Linked DNA regions of Homo sapiens: regions 1, 2 and 4 are each linked to region 3. The links are contacts of gene promoters, found by promoter capture Hi-C in blood cells and fetal thymus (Javierre and others, 2016). All regions are on one chromosome and are shown on one strand. The core of a region is centred on a gene start or on the middle of the fragment in contact, and the rest is flanking DNA. Distances in the headings are between cores, read along the strand shown.

Region 1 (3,479 bases), core at 202-2,701, 380 kb after region 3:
TTTTTTGAGATGGAGTCTCGCTCTGTTGTCCAGGCCGGAGTGCAATGGGGCGATCTCGGCTCACTGCAACCTCCCACCTCCCCGGTTCCAGTGATTCTCCTGCCACAGCCTCCCGAGTAGCTGGGATTACAGGCGCGCACCACACCTGGCTAATTTTTGTATTTTTAGTAGAGATGGGCTTTCACTATGTTGGCCAGGCTGGTCTCGATCTCCTGACCTCAAGTGGTCCACCCGCCTTGGCCTCCCAAAGTGGTGGGATTACAGGCGTGAGCCACTGCGCCTGGCCTTGTGCTATATTCTTTTTTTTTTTTTTTTTTTGAGACGGAGTCTCGCTCTGTCACCTAGGCTGGAGTGCAGTGGTGTGATCTTGGCTCGCTGTAACCTCTGCCTCCCGGGTTCGAGCGATTCTCCTATTTCAGCCTCCCAAGTAGGTGGGATTATAGCCATGTGCCATCACACTCAGACGATTTTTGTATTTTCAGTAGAGACGAGGTTTGACCATGTCCGCCAGGGGTCTTGTACTCCTGACCTCAAGTGATCCACCCACCTCAGCCTCCCAGAGTGCTGGGATTACAGGCATGAGCCAGTGTGCCCAGCCTATTCTTAAAGAATAATTACAAAATGAAGATTCCGAAACCACCACGTAGGCCAAGCTATAGAATGCCTCCGAGCCTGCAGTTCACATTCCCCGTGCATCTTTTCCCTGTTACAAACCCCTCCTATCCCAGAAGTAACTAGTCTGCTGATATTTGTCATTATTTTCTTGCCTTTAGTATTTCTGCATGCATTCCTAAACAATATAGCTTGATTATGCCTGGTTTTGAACTTTAAATTAAAAGAAGCTTACTACATATATGTATTCTTTTGTATTTTGCTTCTTTTACTTAATGTTGTGGGTTGATTCACCTATATTGTAATTACATACAACTTGTCAATTTCCATTGCTATATGAAAATACCATTTCATTGCATGGAAATAAACAATAAAAATACATTTTACTATAGATGGATATTTAGGGTTTTTTTGGTATTTGAACAATGCCACCATGAATATTCCTGTCCTGTATTTGGCACACAAGTAAAAGACTTTTCTAGAAAATGTTCGGGTTGTTTGCTATGAGTTTCTTCATAATGTCAAATAATATTTTTAAAAATGTGGATATTGTCCCAACATACACTCCCATAACAGTGCATGAGAATTCCTATTGCTGCTGCATATCTTTGCCAACATTTGATATTGTTACACTTTATAATTTTTTGTGGCCAGGCACAGTGGCTCACACCTACAATCCCAGCACTTTGGGAGGCCAAGACAGGAGTTTGAGACTAGCCTGGGTAACACAGCAAGACGCCATCTCTAAAAAAATAAATAGCTGAGGTGGGAGGATCACTTGAACCTGGGAGGTTGAGGCTGCAATGAGCCATGATTGTGGCACTGCACTCCAGCTTGAGTGACAAAGTGAGGCTCTGTCTACAAACAAATAAATAAAAATAAAAAATAGGCTGGGCGCGGTGGCTCAACCCTGTAATCCCAGCACTTTGGGAGGCTGAGGCGGGCGGATCACGAGGTCAGGAGATCGAGACCATCCTGGCTAACACGCTGAAACCCTGTCTCTACTAAAAATACAAAAAAATTAGCCGGGCGTGTTGGTGGGCGCCTGTAGTCCCAGCTACTCGGGAGGCTGAGGCAGGAGAATGGCGTGAACCCGGGAGGCGGAGCTTGCAGTGAGCCGAGATCGCGCCACCGCACTCCAGCCTGGGCAACAGAGTGAGACTCTGTCTCAAAAAATAAATAAATAAATAAATAAAAATAAATAAAAAATAATGAAATAATTTTTTGCTAACCTGGTAGGTGTGTATTGGTATCTCACTGTGGATTTAATTTACTTATTTTGGATTCCTAATGAGATGAGCACTTTTTGCAGGTTTTGATATTTCGATGTCCCTTTCTTGTGAAGGGCAAAGTTTGAACACAATAGGCAAATGTAGCAATCTTTTTAAAAATTTTCATGCTCTTCATATTTTATTTCAGAAACTTCCCCTACCCCCATATCATTTTGGGAAGCTTTATTGTTTGGCCTTTCACATTTAGGTCTTAAATTCAACTAGAATTGCTTAGGAGGGCTGGAGTATAAAGTTGTAATGGTTAATTTTATGTGTCAACTTGACTGGGCCATGTGGTACCCAGACATTTGGCCAAATATTATTCTGTGTGTGTCTGTGATGGTGCTTCCAAGTGAGAGTATTACATTGGAATCAGTAGACTGAGTACAGCAGATTGCTCTCCCCAGTGTGGTTGGGCCTCATTCAATCAATTGAAGACCGGAATAGAATAAAAAGACTGAATATGAGAGAATTTCTCCTGTCCGACTGGTTAAGTTGGGGCATCGGTTTTTTCCAGCCTTCAGACTTGGCCTGAAACATTGGTCCTCCTTGGGTTGTGAGCCTGCAGGTCCTCAGACTGAAACTATCCATCAGCTCTCCTGGTTCTCAGGCTCCTGGATTCAAGCTGGAAGTACACATCAGGTCTCCTGGGTCCTCAGCTTGATGACTCGAGATCTTGGGAATTCTCGGCCTCTATAACTGTGTGCCCCAATTCCCTATAATAAATCTTTGTCTTTCTCTCTCTCCTGTTGTCTCTGTGTCTCTGAAGAACCCTGGCTAATACAAAGGTATAGTCCAATTTTATTTTATTTTTTTTCCAAATAAATACTCCTCAGTGACAGCACCATCTACTGAATATTGTCCCTTCCCCACTGAATTGCAAAGATGCCTCTCAAGCTTCCATATGAGCACGGGACTATTTCTGTAATCTGTAGTCTGTTCTGTTGGGCTACTGCCCTGTCCTTGTGCTAACACCATGTCTTATTACTATAGGCTAATTATGAATCTTGATGCTCAATAGGGCAAATCCTCTAATTTTGCTGCTTTTCAAGAGTATCTTGGCTGTATGTGGCACTTTGCAAAAACTAAAACACAACAACAACAACAAAATTCAGGTTTTTGGTTGATATTGCATTAAATTTATAGATCAGTTTTAAGTGAATTGACACCTTTCTAATTTGCAGTTTTGAATCTTTTTATTTATTTTTTATTTTTATTTTTTTTATGAGACTGAGTCTCCTTCTGTCGCCCAGGCTGGGGTGCAGTGGTGCAATTTCGGCTCATTGCATCCTCTGCCTGCTGGGTTCAAGCAATTCTCCTGTCTCAGCCTCCCAAGTAGCTGGGACTACAGGCATGTGCCAGCACGCCCAGTTAATTTTTTTTTTTTTTTAAGTAGAGATGGGGTTTCACCATGTTGGTCAGGCTAGCCTTGAACTCCTGACCTCAGGTGATCTGCCCACCTTGGCCTTCCAAAGTGCTGGCATTACAGGTGTGAGCCACCGTGCCTGGCTGACTCTTTTTATATGACTTTAGGAGTTAGTCTAGAAATTCTAATCCACATATTTAACTTACTAATATCTAGACTTAATACCCTTA
Region 2 (3,061 bases), core at 26-2,525, 420 kb after region 3:
ACTAGGCAGCCGCATTGAGAAAAAACGAAAAGTAAATCTTTTGCAAATAATATCACAAAACTTCCAGCTGTGCACAAATACTGAAGGGCAATTTTGATGACAATGCAGGAAGCTTTCAAAGAAAGGATTTTTAAACATATTTTTTCCTTGGCGGAACTCTTTTTAGTAAGGATTTCCACCTTTGCCCCAGGATCCTGCCAATGTTCTTAGTCAAAGCCAGACCCGAGTTTCCTAGGATTCTTCGGTGAAACTGCATTGCCCCCTGGCGTTTGTGTGCTGTCATTACGCCGCACAGATAAAGCCCATGGAACACCTACCAATCCGAGGAAGGATGCAGCTCCTGGTTTCATCTACATGGAGAAACCTCTCTTAAAACACAGGATCAGAGAATGCAGTTCTAAATGGCAAATCTAGACTTGGTTTGACAAGACATGGAATGAAACTTTGAAATTAAAACTCCTTCCTTTTCCATCCTTAGCAGAATCTCCTGAGATGTTCAAGTAGCTCTGGAAAGAAACTGATCAGATTCTAATCTGTCAATTTAAAAAGTTTTTTTTTAAACAATTTTTAAATTTGTTTTAGAGATAGGGTCTTGCTGTGTCATTCAAGCTGCAGTGCAGTGGTGCAATCATAGCTCACTGCAATCTTGAACTCCTAGGCTCAAGGGAGCCTCCTGCCTCAGCCTCCGTAGTAGCTGCAACTACAGGCGCCCACCACTACACCCTGCTAATTTTCTTATTTTTAAATTTTTTTGTTTTGTTTTAGAGATGAGGTCTCACTGTGTTGTCCAGGCTGGTACTCCTGACCTCAAGTGATCCTCCTGCTTTGGCTTCCCAAAGCTCTGGGATTACAGGCCTGAGCCACTGTGCCCGGTTGCTAATTTGTCAATTTTTTTTTTTTTGGGAGTCAGGGTCTCACTCTGTTGCCCAGGCTGGAGTGCAGTGGTGCATCTCAGCTCACTGCAACCTCCACCTCCCAGACTCAAGCGATTCTCTTGCCTCAGCCTTCTGAGTAGCTGAGATTACAGACATGCGCCACCACCACCCAGCTTATTTTTGTACTTTTAGTAGAGGCGGGGTTTTACCATGTTGGCCAGGCTGGTCTCAAACTCCTGACCTCGAACGATCCACCTGCCTCGGCCTCACAGTCAACAAATATTGACTGTGCTGCTTACCATCCATGTGAACTTGGAAAACCCTCTTAACCTTTCTTTGTCTCCTCCACTTACAAAATGAGGCTGATAATAGTAGCATATACCATCTAGTACCTAGTAAACACCCTTTAAGTGTTTGTGAATGATGAGAACTATGTGAGTTTTCCACTCCGGTGGACTAGGGAAGATTAAAAAACATTCTGTGATGTTGAAAGGGCTTGGACTTGGTTCCTGGCCAAGTCTATTAAAACCCCAAAACACAAAGAAATGCTCCAGGTACTGCGGTTTCTACCTGGCCTCAGTGCAAACCTAGAATTAAGTACATCTCTGACACTTCCAGGTCGGTGTGACTGGACCTCTGAGAATATGCTGGGGCCTGAGAGGGTCCATTCTTGTCCACACCAGGGCAGAGTTCCACCCCCAAGGCTAGGCCAGAGCCGGAATGACTCCAGGAGTAAGGCCAAGGGTGGTCTTCCTTGGCCCAGGTTCCTCTAGAATATGCCACTGTGGCATAAAAATGATTTTGAGCTGAAGGCATTTGATAAGAGGCTTATTTCTAAACTCCTTATCTGCCCCAAAGCAGAACCTCCTCCCAAAACTCAATTGTCATAAATCCCTTCCCACAGATTTTTCTGCAACCAGAGAAAGTTGACTCTAATACCAAAGAGAAGCCCACAGCACACCTAAACAGGCATTGTCACAAAACTATCATCTCCCATCTATTCTCCTAAAGGCCCATGATCTTTCTTAAAAGTAATTTATTTTTCCTTAAGTGCCCTTCTCCTCCTCCCCTTCTCTTGTTCAGATGGCACATAAGCCCCAAATTGTAAGTGCCCCCTTGAGGCATATTTTCCTGAGAACTCCCATACATAATGAACAGAAGCCTGTCTTTTCTTTTGCAGCCCCCAAAACACTGAACTTAAGAGGGTAAAGGAACAGTTTTTCCTTCCTTCGTTTCTTCTTTCCTTCCTTCCATGTTTTCTAGAGACAGGGTCTCACACTGTCATCCAGGCTGGAGTGCAGTGGTGTGATCATAGCTCACTGCAGCCTCAAAGTCCTGAGCTCAAGTGATCCTCCCCCCTCAGCCTCCAAGTAGCTAGGACTACAGGCACATGCCACCACACCCAGCTAATTTTTTTAATTTGCAAATTTTTGTAGAGATGGGGGTCTCACTGTGTTGCCCAGGCTGGGGAAAAGTTTTTCATCTTCCGTACCTTCTTCTGTGCCTTTGGCAAAATACTGGACTCCACTGTGCAAAAAAAAATCTCTGCTCAGGCCTTCAAAACAAGCTTCACATCTTGTGCCAAGCTATCCTCAGTCGAAGCAGTGGTGGCAAATAGACGCACCATAAATGAGAAATAGAATGCTTGGCCCAGTGCACTGGCTCACGCATGGAATCCCAGCACTTTGGGAGGCCGAGGCAGGCAGATCACCTAAGGCCAGGAGTTCGAGGCCATCCTGGGCAACATGGTGAAACCCCGTCTCTACTAAAAATACAAAAATTAGCTGGGTGAGGTGGCAGGTGCTACTTGGGAGGTTGAGGTAGGAGATCGTTTGAACCTGGGAGGCGGAGCTTGCAATGAGCCGAGATCGCGCCACTGCACTCCGGCCTGGGCGACCGAGTAAGACTCTGTCTCAAAATAAATAAATAAATAAATTAAAAAGCAATAGAATGATCTACATAATATTTGACATGTTAATATTCGTACAGCATCTTTGAACAAAGGCTGACAAATACAAGTGATAAGTGTTTGTTAAATGAAAATAAATGTTGTACAATTTCAGTCTTTAAGAAAGACAACGCAGACTGGTATTAGGGTTCCAGACCTTCCAGATGTTTTTCTTATTTTGCACTGCATCTTTAAAATCTTGCGTATTATTGATAAGGAGTGCTGGGAAGGGAAGAGC
Region 3 (3,556 bases), core at 1-2,500:
GTTAACTTTGGAATACGTTAGTGGTTAATACACGGAACGTTCCCGAGATCCCTCAAGAAAGAAGCTACGAATACTTAGAAGATACTATTCCGCGGCGTTTACAGCAACACTGTCCGTTCCAGAAGGATTCAAGTGGCGGCCTGCTTTGAAGGCGAAGACCACAGGGCAACCCAAACTTCAGAAGGGTTCTGGCCACGGGAGCCACACTGGTCACTGTCCCCTAGTGCTGGGATGACGGCTCGAGTGTTAGAGGATCCCACTCTCTCCTCTGGTAGGTGAGGTCAGAGAGCTGAGGGGGCCAGAACAAGTCTTCCTTATCGGATTCTGGGCGGAAAAAGATAAAGTCGGGGAGGACTTTCTCTTTTTAATAAGATTCATCGTTACGAATTGTTCTAGGCAAGCAGACCTCAGGAGAAATAGGCCCAAGTTTTGATTCCTGTTTTCACCAAGTCGCAAGTCCTAATCGTAGCAAGAGGTGCGGGGAAGAGTCGCCTTCCTTCCTGCATAGTGGGATCCAAGTCAGGCTGTCCTTGTTAGCCAGGGTCAAAGGGGCTCTGCCAGGGAAAAACGACGGCAAATGTTTTTCAAGAGGAAGTCTCCAGCCACTTGTGACCTGGGAAATCCGTCTGGGCCAAAAAGATAGTGGAGGCTTGGCTGAGGGCCCCAGGGACACACGTTTCCTCCCGTATGGAGGGGGCGGGACTCTTAATAAAATTACACTGCACACAGAGCTAGCATCAAGATCCGCTCCCGGGATACGCGCACTGCTCCGGGGCCCTCAGGCGGAGACCCAGACCCCGCGCGGGGCGTCAAGCGCAGGCGCACTACCGCCCACAAGCTGGAGCCCGGCTTCGGGGCGGGGCGAGGGTCAGTCACGTGGGCCCGCAGCCCTCTCCTCGATTTCCCTACAAGGACTTGGGCCGACGGGCCCCGCCCTTCGCCGTGCCCTGGAATGTGCGGCCAGGCAAAGCCACAGGACGGACGCAACCATCTGCGGAAAGGATAGGGGGGAGGAAGACTTAACACTGCAACAACAGGTACAAAAAAGAAGGAAACTCAGTAACAGGACCCAGAGGACCATTATATATTGCTCTATATTCTAGGTCGCCCACTTTACACTTCCTTCTCATGCACTTGGTCAATACCACGCCCGCTGACCACACTGGCGACTTCCCTCTCTGTCGCCCCTCCGTGAAGTCAGACCCACTCTGCGGGCCAAGAAAGGTGACCGGGCTTCCTTCCGGCTTGCTAAGCAGAGGCCGGAAGCGGTGGTTTTTAGCGGCTCTCTGGGTAGCAGGGTGGTGTGATAGCGGCAGCGAGGGGCTCGGAGAGGTGCTCGGATTCTCGTAGCTGTGCCGGGTGAGTGGCGCTCGCGTTCGGGCGCGTGAGACCCATCCCGGGGACCCGTCTCCGCGGGGGCAGCTGGAGGGCGGCGGGGCTCCTGGCGCCGGTAGCGCACCTGGGCAGGTGTGCCAGCCAGGTCCCCGGTTCTGGGATCCGAGGCCATGGCTTGGAGTGGCCCAGACCCGAACTTCGCTCCTGTGCCCAAACTTGGAACTCTGGAAATGTGGCTTCGCTCACTGGCGCCTTGAGCTTGGGCGACTGCCGGGCCCGCGAAACCCGACCCCTGCAGAGCTGACTCCGGGACTATTTTAGTTTCTAACGTCAACTTGCCCGATTCAAGAGGGTTTGCGCAAAAACGTAGCCCGTTGTCCCCCTGCTGCAGCTGTTGTTGCAGCTGTGTGGCTGCGTTTAGTAGGAATAACCAACTCAAATTGGGAAGTTCTTCAGCTCAGTATCCGCTCCTGTAATTAGAACTTTTTTTCTTTAAGCGATGAAATTTTGGACAGAGAGATCTGGAGTTTAGTTTGTGACTCGAAGAAAAACTCCAAAATGTAATACCTTGTCCCATTTGGGGGGAAAGTTTGGGCTAATTCAATTCGCCATGGAAGTGTCTTCTTTTTAAAGTAGTTTAGTAGGTATATGAATGTATCTGTCAGTTCTTGAGAGACCTATGGATTTAGCAGAGATTTTAACTTAAGTGCAAAAAGTTTCATATTTAAAGGCGAATAAAGCGAATATTTCTTAAAATTATTGGTATTTGTTTCATGTTCTGGAAGGGCTCTAATAAACGGTAATCAGAAAAGCACTCTATTTTCAAAAGCGAGGCTTTACTGGCAAGTCAGCCCTCACAGCTAATTGTCTTTGTCCAGTGGTGAGAACTTTTGGGTGTGGCAGTCCAAGAGAACGAATCCTACCTTCAACCGGAAGTTTGCATAAGAAATGAAACTTGGTTTACTTGGAACGGAAGCACCAACTTGAAATACACTTTTTAAAAATTGTGGTTAGCACCAGAAAATAAGTTATACTTAGGCTTTTTTTTTTTAAGTGCATTGATTAAATGAGGCGGTATATTTGGTCAGGGTTTAGAAAGCCCACCAAATACTAGGTGCTATCACAGTACGCAGTGTTTTGTAAGATGGTGGTTTTTTCTTGCAGAATGTGTGATATTTCTCAGAATATTATCAATTTGAGTGTTCGTTTTGTAGAAGAAGTTTCTAGGTTATTTTACATTTATTGCCACTTTGTAAATAAATGCTGGACTCTAGGATTCTAACCACAGAACTCTAATGTATATATTGGTATGGATTAATCCCATTTTATAAATGAACATAGTTTCTAGAGATTCTGAAAACTTCTTGTGTCCTTTGGTGTGTGGGGAAAGCCACTTTGAGAATCTCTTCTATTTCTCCCACCTATTAATCTAGTCTAACATTTTCCTTAATCATGTTGTGTATCTCTCGTTACAGCCCACAATGATTCTGAGCTAAAACACAAAATAAAAACCAGATTCATTGCCACCAGCGCTCACCTCGCCTGACTTAAAAAAAAGGTTATGCTCCTTTAGATCTGTAAACTCAGTCTCCTAACTGCCCTTCATCCACTTTCTCATGCATCTGAAATCCTCATATTTTGTAGAAGCCTGTTCTGTAAGTCTCTCTACTTTCCAGTTTCGTACAACAGACACTCCTTGACACCAAGGATCTTTCACTTAATCCCTCAAAAATAAAGACTCGAGCTGGGTGCGGTGGCTCACGCCTGTAATTCCAGCACTTTGGGAGGCCGAGGCAGGTGGATCACGAAGTCAGGAGTTCAAGACCAGCCTGCACAAGGTGGTGAAACCCCGTCTCTACTAAAAATACAAAAATTAGCTGGGCATGGTGGTGGGTGCCTGTAATCCCAGCTACTCCAGAGGCTGAGGCAGAGAATTGCTTGAACCCTGGAGGTGGAGGTTGAGATCGCGCCACTGCACTCCACCCTGGGCGACAGAGCAAGACTCCGTCTCAAAAATAAATAAATAAAAATAAATAAGTAAATAAAGACTCGACTTTATGATTGAGGAGCTTCGTAATTTGGAAACCTCAGGTCCTTACCTGGCGATCTTTGCATCCTAAAGAATAATTACATTGACATGAAATCTTTTCAATTTATTTTACCCTAGCTTGCTTTTTGTAAAAAGCAATTTCAGGGGGGAGGGGGGAGGGATAGCATTAGG
Region 4 (3,150 bases), core at 393-2,892, 490 kb before region 3:
TCTTACCAAGTCTATGAAATTTGGTGTTTATTTTACACTGTATATCAGTTCAGACCAGCCACATTTCAAGTGCCCAGTAGTCACACATAGCCATTGGCTACCATATTGGATAATGCAGATCTGAAATAAATCTAAAATTGGGAACTAAAGTTTATCAGTGTCCTGATATAATAATCTACTTCAACATTTATGGTTCATTTTAATCATTGGTTTTGGAAACTATCTTGCTTAATTAATCCTGAATCTTTGCTTGCTTAATTTAGACCATCAGTCCAATCAAGTTGGTATTATCTTTAAATAATATCACCATAAAGTTCTACTGTGTGTCTTTTAATAATGGGGTGTCTTTCCACTGTCACTAATCTCACATTGTACCTTACATGTATTATGAAGATATAAACGTGTGTATATATACCTGTATGTTTATAAATGGAATCCAGATACACATTCAGTTTAGGTATATAATAAGCTTTCCTCCTAAGTATACTATGTTAAATTTTGTCATTTTCCCCTCTCCCCTTCTCTCCTACTCCCCTTTCTAGGCAGAAACATTTAGTTGTAATAAAATAAAAGATAATGACAAAGAAGATGGCTGCTTCTATTTCAGGTATTTCTCAAAACATTTCATATTTTGAATACATATCTTGTTACAAAGTAATTCAACCCTGGAGATATATGTGGGCTCACCTGAGGAAAAGTAATTTATGATCAAATAGAAATGTTAGTGTCTCTAAATTTTTCTCAGTTTTTTGGGAAAAGGTGTGTTTTCGTTTTTAAGCATTAAATTGGTTTTAAGCTTTGTAAATTGTAATTGTATTTGCTTTTGAAACTATCGAAGCCATCAGAAGAATTCTTTTATGTTGTCAGGGCACTTTATAACTTCTTATTATATAGGAGGTTTCTATAAAGATTAGACTGGCTTTTAACATTTCTGTGACTTTGAGCATGTTGCTGCTTCATTCTGGACCTCCATTTTCAAATCTAAAAACATTATGTGTTAAGTTTCTTTACAAATCCTTTATCATCAATAGGGTCAAAATGCTCATTATATTTGTTCAGTGCTTTTTCAGACTAATTGGTAAAGGACCAATCATGGAAGCTCCACCCCTTACCTCTTCCAGTTATTACCGTCTTCCTTCCTGTTGTGCATGCCATGCACACACTCATGTAGACACACACATGCACACACCACAAACCCTCTCCTGATTTGGTCTTATTTAGAGTTCCGTTTATCTTAGCATACATCTCTATAGTCTCTGATTTAGTTGTGCCCATTTTTGAACTTGATATACAATTATTTTCCTTTGCATAAGACTTCTTTCACTCAGCATCATGAGATTCTGTGGCATATAGCTATAAATTCATTCATTTCCATTGCTGTATAGAAGTCCATTGTGTGAACACACTACTATTTTCCATTCTGTTAATGGCTATTTGCATTTTCAATTTTGGGCTATTACAAATAATCTTTATAACACTGGTGCTCATATAAAAGTAAAATTGCTGGGTCATAAGTTCATAGATGTGTATATTTAAATATAGATGTGTATGTTAGATGTTAAATATAGATGTTAAACATAGATGTGTGTGTTTAACTTGAGTAGCTTGAGGGTTTATTTCTTTTTAATACATAGCCTTGCTAGAGTGCAATGCCTAGAGTGCAGTGGCTCACTGCAACCTCTGCTTCCCTGGCTCAAGCGAGCCCCCTGCCTCAGCCTCCCAAGTAGCTAGGACTACAGGAATGTGCTGCCATGCCCAGCAAATTTATTTATTTATTTATTTTGTGTGTGTGTGGAGACTGGGTTTCACCAAGTTGCTCTGGCTAGTCTCGAACTCCTGAGCTCAAAGCCATCTGCCCACCTCAGCCTCCCAAAATGGTGGGATTACAAGCATGAGCCACCGTGCCCGGCCCTTCCCAACACGGTTTTGTGGGTCTTTTCAGGTGTAATCTTCTGGTGGACATGTAATAGAGTGGCATCACACTTACTCTTAATTTGCATTTCCCTGTTTATCATATATTTATTGGCCACTTAGATTACCTTTTGTGAAGTGCCTTTTTTGAGTATCTTAATAACTTTTGTATTATTTTTTATATTAATTTGTAGGAGTTCTTTATATATTAGAGATACAAGCCTTTTGTTTAGACATCTTTGCCTATCCTGTGGCTTGCTTTCTCATTTTATGATATCTTGAACAGCAGTGGTTAATTTTTATATAAGCAAATGTGTTAATCATCTTTTTTATAGTTGATCTTCTTTGTGTCCTGTTTAAGTCTTTCCTTACATTTAGGTCATCAACACATTTTACTATATTATTGTGTTGGGGGTTCCCAATACCAATGCCAGGTTTGATGATTCACCAGGAGGACTCACAGGACTTAATATATAGCTGGGCTCATAGCTATGTTTTATTGAAACAAAAGGATTCAAAGTGAAATGAGCAAGGTAAAAAGCTCATGGGGTGATGTCCAAGGGAAAGCAGACACAGAGGAAGCTTTCCAAGGATTCTGTCTTGGTGAAGTCACAGAGTATGTGCTTAATTCCCCAACAATAAATTGTGACAATGCGTATAAAATGTTGTCAACCAGGGAAGCTCACTGGGGACTCAGCATTCAGGGTTTTTGTTAGGGTGTGGTCACATAGGCAGCCTCTGCCTAGCAAATACCAGATTTTCAGAAGAAAAGCAAGTGTGTAGCATAAACCATATTAGTGCAGTGGTTTAGGCAATGTGAGCCACTCATATCAGTTAAAGGTGAGAACCCTCCTGAAATCTAAACTCACAGATGTCTGCGAAGGGCCCATCTTGCAAGCAGACAAGTGCTTCTAAGGATAGCACTTTAGGTTTGCTGTGTTCTTTTTATACAGTTATACGTGGAATTGATTTTTTTTTTTTTTAATGTATAGTGTGAGGCCAGGTGCGGTGGCTCACACCTATAATCCCAGCACTTTGGGAGGCAGAGGCAGGCAGATCACATGAGGTCCATCGTAAATGATATCTCCTAAAACATTTTTATTTTCTGTTGTTTTTGGTTAGAGAGATGCAATTGATTTATGTATATTGACCTTGTAGCAGTTATCTTTGTTAAACTCCTTCATTTCTTATTTTAAATAATTAATTAATTAATTTAGAGACAGGGTCTCACTATGTCAC

What was found. The method cuts DNA at HindIII sites, captures the fragments that hold promoters and counts their contacts. A CHiCAGO score of 5 or more calls a contact.
Region 1: a fragment that was not itself captured here is called in contact with the fragment with the promoter of MYL12A in region 3 in 1 of 17 cell types (endothelial precursors); the score reaches 6.5 in endothelial precursors.
Region 2: a fragment that was not itself captured here is called in contact with the fragment with the promoter of MYL12A in region 3 in 14 of 17 cell types (naive B cells, total B cells, total CD8 T cells and 11 more); the score reaches 10.2 in naive B cells.
Region 4: a contact is called between a fragment that was not itself captured here and the fragment with the promoter of MYL12A in region 3, in 1 of 17 cell types (neutrophils). The highest score is 5.1, in neutrophils.

What each region holds. Positions count from the first base shown.
Region 1 is chr18:3,627,890-3,631,368 of GRCh38, forward strand. The region is part of intron 7 of DLGAP1 (DLG associated protein 1); the gene reads right to left. Among named protein-coding and RNA genes, the nearest start is that of DLGAP1-AS6, 23 kb to the right of the region's middle. The HindIII fragment of the contact is 1,222 bases long and covers 841-2,062 here.
Region 2 is chr18:3,666,194-3,669,254 of GRCh38, forward strand. The region is part of intron 7 of DLGAP1 (DLG associated protein 1); the gene reads right to left. Among named protein-coding and RNA genes, the nearest start is that of DLGAP1-AS6, 15 kb to the left of the region's middle. The HindIII fragment of the contact is 2,330 bases long and covers 111-2,440 here.
Region 3 is chr18:3,246,551-3,250,106 of GRCh38, forward strand. It overlaps MYL12A (myosin light chain 12A), which reads left to right and starts at 1,251. Exons shown (of 4, transcript NM_006471.4): 1 at 1,251-1,359. It also overlaps a transcript of MYOM1 not described here. RefSeq lists enhancers at 958-1,187, 2,320-2,389 and a silencer at 1,478-1,557. The HindIII fragment of the contact is 13,247 bases long and covers 1-3,556 here.
Region 4 is chr18:2,751,946-2,755,095 of GRCh38, forward strand. It overlaps SMCHD1 (structural maintenance of chromosomes flexible hinge domain containing 1), which reads left to right. Exons shown (of 48, transcript NM_015295.3): 34 at 543-607. Among named protein-coding and RNA genes, the nearest start is that of EMILIN2, 93 kb to the right of the region's middle. The HindIII fragment of the contact is 1,697 bases long and covers 795-2,491 here.